Regions from separate parts of the Homo sapiens genome. Here region 2 is linked to region 1. Evidence: promoter capture Hi-C in human tissues and cell types (Jung and others, 2019). All regions are on one chromosome and are shown on one strand. The core of a region is centred on a gene start or on the middle of the fragment in contact, and the rest is flanking DNA. Distances in the headings are between cores, read along the strand shown.

Region 1 (3,254 bases), core at 21-2,520:
GGTCAGGAGTTCGAGACCAATCTGAACAACGGGGTGAAATCCCGTCTCTACTAAAAATACAATAGCTGGGCGTGGTGGCTCGCATCTGTAGTCCCAGCTACTCAGGAGGCTGAGGCAGTAGAATCGCTTGAACCCGGGAGGCGGAGGCTGCAGTGAGCAGAGATTGCGTCACTGCACTCCAGCCTGGGCGACACAGAAAGACTCCGTCTCAAAAAAAAACAAAAAACAAAAAACACAATGCCTCGGGACTGTCCCGGGAGGTGAGGCCCCCACGATTGGCGAGAAAGGTGGGCAGCCACGAGGGCCTTCTGAAGGGATGAGCCGGGCGGGCGGAGGGGAGGGGTCTGGCAGGCAGGAAATAAAGCGATACTCTCAGACTAGCGGGACGGGGATTGCCATGGGGGTAGTGGGGGATGTCAGGCCCGGCCGGGCCAGCGGTCACCTTGATTGGGGCCATGGCTGCAGCGGCTCTGCTGAAACTGCGGACCCCGCCAGACGCCCACTCTCCTTCACTGTACCGTCTTGCTGCCGCTGCCGCAGACTGACCGCCGGCCCCACCGACGAGTATATAGCCCGCTGAGCGTCTCAGGGCGCACACGCCAGCTAGTCCCATACCCGCCCCACGGCCACTTCCACTCCGCCTCCTGGCTGGTGCCACCGCAGCAGGCGGGGCACCGCTAGCGGCACAGCGGCGACACCCTGCGGAAGGCGGGCCTGGGCCGCCTCCACTGCGCAGGCGCGAGCGGCCACCCGCAGAACAGAGCTTCCGGGACCCACGCCTCGTTTGCACTGGGTGCTGGACAGCCGACGCAACTACAAATGGGGCGGAGCTTTCGGCACTGGAGCAGCTAATTTGCATATAGGAATGAGGTGCGGCTCGGCTTCCATGGGCCTAATTTACAGATAGGGCGGTATTTCTGCCCCTTAACCGAAAGTGGGATACAGAGGACGACGGTGTTAGGCGCCTGTGTAGGAGTAAAATGTGTTTATTTTGCATTCAACGAGAGCTCCTGCATTGCAGCTATTTTGCATATGATTTGCATCTTACGAAGAATTTGTGGCAAAAAAAAGCTGGGCGTGCGCCGTAGGAACCTCCTGCTGAGACGCTTCCGGTAGCGGCGCGTGACCCGACAGGTCTTTCACCTACCTACCTCAGCTCCCACAAACACGAGAAGTTCCAGCAAGTTCGCCACTTCCGGTTCTCCTGGCTATCCAATAGCATCGAGAGGAGCATCCCCGGAAGTGAGGCAGCGGAGGACGACCTTTTTCCGGTTCCGGCCTGGCGAGAGTTTGTGCGGCGACATGAAACTGCTTACCCACAATCTGCTGAGCTCGCATGTGCGGGGGGTGGGGTCCCGTGGCTTCCCCCTGCGCCTCCAGGTACCCGCCGGCGGCAGTCTTCCCTTTTCGGGCGGGATGGTGGGCCGGGGTCCAGTGCTTGCCTAAACTCCTCCGCCCTGCAGGCCACCGAGGTCCGTATCTGCCCTGTGGAATTCAACCCCAACTTCGTGGCGCGTATGATACCTAAAGTGGAGTGGTCGGCGTTCCTGGAGGCGGCCGATAACGTGAGGATCCTTACCCCGCCCCAGCATATCCCGGGGAATGCGGGGCGGGCACACCTCAGCCGGGCTGAGGCGGGAGTTCGGGATGCCCGGAGATAATTTTGGCCTCTTGCCCACAGTTGCGTCTGATCCAGGTGCCGAAAGGGCCGGTTGAGGGATATGAGGAGAATGAGGAGTTTCTGAGGACCATGCACCACCTGCTGCTGGAGGTGAGAAGCGGCCCATCACTTGCTTCCCGGGCCACCTGCCTCCCGCACTGAGGCTGCCAGTGCTCAGCTCTGTCCCTCCCTGCCCGCAGGTGGAAGTGATAGAGGGCACCCTGCAGTGCCCGGAATCTGGACGTATGTTCCCCATCAGCCGCGGGATCCCCAACATGCTGCTGAGTGAAGAGGAAACTGAGAGTTGATTGTGCCAGGCGCCAGTTTTTCTTGTTATGACTGTGTATTTTTGTTGATCTATACCCTGTTTCCGAATTCTGCCGTGTGTATCCCCAACCCTTGACCCAATGACACCAAACACAGTGTTTTTGAGCTCGGTATTATATATTTTTTTCTCATTAAAGGTTTAAAACCAAAAGCGGTTTCTCTTTGCAGCAAATATACATTAAAATAGAGTCTCTGTACAGCCAAGGGCTCTGGGCCCTGGCTTGCCCCATGTCCCTGCGCCTCCCTGGCCAAACCCAAAAATAAATATAGTGTTATTGCTCTGCAGGGCATAGAGGCAGTGCTCTCCTACCCCCTGAGGAGGCTCGTTGGGAGCTGATGGGGAAGCCCTGGCCACCCCAGGGGTCCAGGGGCTGGAGTCTGCTTGGAGTTATTGCTTCAAGGGGGGACACTAATGCCCAATGCAAATGATGAGAGGAGGAGCGAAGGGGGCATGGGCCTTTGCTCTCCAAGTCCCACTCTGCTTTGAAGAGGGGGTAGGATTAAGCAGCAGCAAAAGCATCACCCACTGGGAGACTCTGGCCTCCATCCCCTTCCCTCCCTGAGATAGGTTTCTGCCTCCCACGCATCCCGTGCAGCCCCCTATGGCTTCCGCAAGGCCCCCTACACTCTGGGGGCACGTTATGGCTTGCAAGGGGCAGCACTGTGCCCAGAGCCTGGACACACGTTCCCAGCTTCTGACACCCCCTAGGAGGGGGAGGAGAGGGCGTGGGGCCTGTTCCCAGGGGCTGATGGCATTGCCCTGGCCCTGCCAGCAGGCTGTGGCACTGCCCAGACCCCAGCTCCGCCCCAGCCCTTGGGGCTGACCCCATGCTAGGCAGGTCCTGCCAGAACCCCCACCAGTCCCACCCCTTGCCTCAGTCCATCATGGCCTCGAGCATCTCCAAGAACAGCTTGTGCATGGGCACCTTGCCCTCCAGCTTCACCCCATAGAAATGGGCCAGCACTTTGCCCGCTGTCTGGCGGAGGAGCGGTAGCGTGAGCAGCAGCCTGCCCGCCCGCCGCCGCTCAGCACCCCCTCCGGGGCCAGCCCGGCCGGCTTCATACTCCAGCAGGGCCTCGTGCAGAGCTTCTCGCAGCTGCTCCACAGCCTCGGCATCTTCGATGTGCACAGAGTCTGCAAGAAGAGAGGAATGTGGTGTTGGCCTGGGCTATCTCTGGCAAGGGCACTCCCCGTATCTTGAGCACTGCTGGATGGGGCCTAAGGAAGAGCCAAACGAGGATTTGTTGATTGGCTGACTGAGAGGCA
Region 2 (3,267 bases), core at 82-2,581, 800 kb before region 1:
CCGTGCCTGGCCCATTTTTCTGTTAAAAACCTTTGTCTTCTTTTACCTCCCTGATAAGCACATAGTCTATACCCATTCCCGAATAAATATCCTTTTCTTTTAGAGTCTGTTATTTAGGTTGACATAAGATAGCACCAGTCTTTGGTTTTCCATGGTGCAGGGTACAGATGGGATGGAAAGGAGGCTCAGGTACTCTGAATGGTCTGCCTCTCAGGATTTCTGTGGGATGCAAAAGAGTATATGTACACTTCTGAAAAGTCAATCAAGCCTTTAGAAACTTAAGGCTTAACTTTCTGTCTCGGTTTTAGAAATAGATATTATTATATTGGCAGCGTGGCCTTGTTTGTACCTCCATGATTGCCTGGCTGGCCTTGCTAACCTAATCACATCTGTGACGGGATATAGTGATGTTTAATCTTATGATTGCCTTAAGAATTAAGGCAATCAGACGGGTTCGGCGGCTCATGCCTGTAATCCCAGCACTTTGGGAGGCCGAGGCGGGCGGATCACGAGGTCAGAAGATCCAGTCCATCCTGGCTAACAAGGTGAAACCCCGTCTCTACTAAAAATACAAAAAATTAGCCGGGCATGGTGGCGGGAGCCTGTAGTCCCAGCTACTCGGGAGGCTGAGGCAGGAGGATGGCGTGAATCTGGGAGGCGGAGCTTGCAGTGGGCCGAGATCGCGCCACTGCCCTCCAGCCTGGGCGACAGAGCGAGACTCCGTCTCAAAAAAAAAAAAAAAAAGAATTAAGGCAATCATAATTCCCCACGCACACTCATATGCTAGGACCCCGCCCCTTACCTGAAACGTTGTGGCTTATATAGACACTGCCAGGCACTGTGTTAAGTGCTCCCAAAGAGCACCCCAGTCTACCATTTTCCCTCTCGATTCTATATGTACACTCGGGACAAGTTCTCCTGATCGAAAACGGCAAAACTAAGGCCCCAAGTAGGAATGCCTTAGTTTTCGGGGTTAACAATGATTAACACTGAGCCTCACACCCACGCGATGCCCTCAGCTCCTCGCTCAGCGCTCTCACCAACAGCCGTAGCCCGCAGCCCCGCTGGACACCGGTTCTCCATCCCCGCAGCGTAGCCCGGAACATGGTAGCTGCCATCTTTACCTGCTACGCCAGCCTTCTGTGCGCGCAACTGTCTGGTCCCGCCCCGTCCTGCGCGAGCTGCCTGCCCAGGCAGGTTCGCCGGTGCGAGCGTAAAGGGGCGGAGCTAGGACTGCCTTGGGCGGTACAAATAGCAGGGAACCGCGCGGTCGCTCAGCAGTGACGTGACACGCAGCCCACGGTCTGTACTGACGCGCCCTCGCTTCTTCCTCTTTCTCGACTCCATCTTCGCGGTAGCTGGGACCGCCGTTCAGGTAAGAATGGGGCCTTGGCTGGATCCGAAGGGCTTGTAGCAGGTTGGCTGCGGGGTCAGAAGGCGCGGGGGGAACCGAAGAACGGGGCCTGCTCCGTGGCCCTGCTCCAGTCCCTATCCGAACTCCTTGGGAGGCCTGGCCTTCCCCACGTGAGCCGCCGCGACCACCATCCCGTCGCGATCGTTTCTGGACCGCTTTCCACTCCCAAATCTCCTTTATCCCAGAGCATTTCTTGGCTTCTCTTACAAGCCGTCTTTTCTTTACTCAGTCGCCAATATGCAGCTCTTTGTCCGCGCCCAGGAGCTACACACCTTCGAGGTGACCGGCCAGGAAACGGTCGCCCAGATCAAGGTAAGGCTGCTTGGTGCGCCCTGGGTTCCATTTTCTTGTGCTCTTCACTCTCGCGGCCCGAGGGAACGCTTACGAGCCTTATCTTTCCCTGTAGGCTCATGTAGCCTCACTGGAGGGCATTGCCCCGGAAGATCAAGTCGTGCTCCTGGCAGGCGCGCCCCTGGAGGATGAGGCCACTCTGGGCCAGTGCGGGGTGGAGGCCCTGACTACCCTGGAAGTAGCAGGCCGCATGCTTGGAGGTGAGTGAGAGAGGAATGTTCTTTGAAGTACCGGTAAGCGTCTAGTGAGTGTGGGGTGCATAGTCCTGACAGCTGAGTGTCACACCTATGGTAATAGAGTACTTCTCACTGTCTTCAGTTCAGAGTGATTCTTCCTGTTTACATCCCTCATGTTGAACACAGACGTCCATGGGAGACTGAGCCAGAGTGTAGTTGTATTTCAGTCACATCACGAGATCCTAGTCTGGTTATCAGCTTCCACACTAAAATTAGGTCAGACCAGGGCCCCCAAAGTGCTCTATAAAATTAGAAGCTGGAAGATCCTGAAATGAAACTTAAGATTTCAAGGTCAAATATCTGCAACTTTGTTCTCATTACCTATTGGGCGCAGCTTCTCTTTAAAGGCTTGAATTGAGAAAAGAGGGGTTCTGCTGGGTGGCACCTTCTTGCTCTTACCTGCTGGTGCCTTCCTTTCCCACTACAGGTAAAGTCCATGGTTCCCTGGCCCGTGCTGGAAAAGTGAGAGGTCAGACTCCTAAGGTGAGTGAGAGTATTAGTGGTCATGGTGTTAGGACTTTTTTTCCTTTCACAGCTAAACCAAGTCCCTGGGCTCTTACTCGGTTTGCCTTCTCCCTCCCTGGAGATGAGCCTGAGGGAAGGGATGCTAGGTGTGGAAGACAGGAACCAGGGCCTGATTAACCTTCCCTTCTCCAGGTGGCCAAACAGGAGAAGAAGAAGAAGAAGACAGGTCGGGCTAAGCGGCGGATGCAGTACAACCGGCGCTTTGTCAACGTTGTGCCCACCTTTGGCAAGAAGAAGGGCCCCAATGCCAACTCTTAAGTCTTTTGTAATTCTGGCTTTCTCTAATAAAAAAGCCACTTAGTTCAGTCATCGCATTGTTTCATCTTTACTTGCAAGGCCTCAGGGAGAGGTGTGCTTCTCGGGTTGGTGGTATGTCCCCTAGGAGAACAGTGAGGCAGAAAAGGCAGAAGCCTTTGGTATGGGGGGAAGAAATGGTAAACTACAAGAGAAATTTCCTGTGAAGAAACAGCTACAGATCCTGGGGGGCTTCAGATGTAAAATTGGGGTTATTCCCTATCCTAAGTAACTTGATCAGTCCCCCCAGGTCATTCTTTTTCATCTTCTAAACAGAGAAGGTAGCAGGAATCACTGTGGTGAGAGGTTTGTTATGGAGGCAGCAATAGAAGGGATGGGTGGGGGAAGAGGTTTGTATAGAAGGTGAACCTGGCCGTTCCCTGAACTTGGTACCAGCTGTGGCCTTAGAGTCCAGGGCAGGAATCTGGTCTGCCTTGGTTTTAGAAG

Evidence for each region. Contacts are between HindIII fragments. The study calls those that stand out against the background at their distance.
Region 2: the fragment with the promoter of FAU here is called in contact with the fragment with the promoter of TRMT112 in region 1 in 1 of the 25 tissues and cell types used here (stomach).

What each region holds. Positions count from the first base shown.
Region 1 is chr11:64,315,575-64,318,828 of GRCh38, reverse strand. It overlaps TRMT112 (tRNA methyltransferase activator subunit 11-2), which reads left to right and starts at 1,270. Exons shown (of 4, transcript NM_016404.3): 1 at 1,270-1,380; 2 at 1,464-1,565; 3 at 1,682-1,771; 4 at 1,861-2,369. The coding sequence starts at 1,303. The coding sequence ends at 1,968. It overlaps ESRRA (estrogen related receptor alpha), which reads right to left. Exons shown (of 7, transcript NM_004451.5): 7 at 2,086-3,122. The coding sequence ends at 2,863. PRDX5 (peroxiredoxin 5) reads right to left here and starts at 708. Exons shown (of 6, transcript NM_012094.5): 1 at 443-708. The coding sequence starts at 613. RefSeq lists a silencer at 644-803 and enhancers at 894-1,093, 2,251-2,766. The HindIII fragment of the contact is 15,117 bases long and covers 1-3,254 here.
Region 2 is chr11:65,120,198-65,123,464 of GRCh38, reverse strand. FAU (FAU ubiquitin like and ribosomal protein S30 fusion) reads left to right here and starts at 1,331. Exons shown (of 5, transcript NM_001997.5): 1 at 1,331-1,375; 2 at 1,644-1,726; 3 at 1,821-1,965; 4 at 2,429-2,484; 5 at 2,659-2,835. The coding sequence starts at 1,652. The coding sequence ends at 2,784. MRPL49 (mitochondrial ribosomal protein L49) reads right to left here and starts at 1,144. Exons shown (of 4, transcript NM_004927.4): 1 at 1,041-1,144. The coding sequence starts at 1,118. RefSeq lists enhancers at 854-1,123, 1,284-1,373. The HindIII fragment of the contact is 8,684 bases long and covers 1-1,759 here.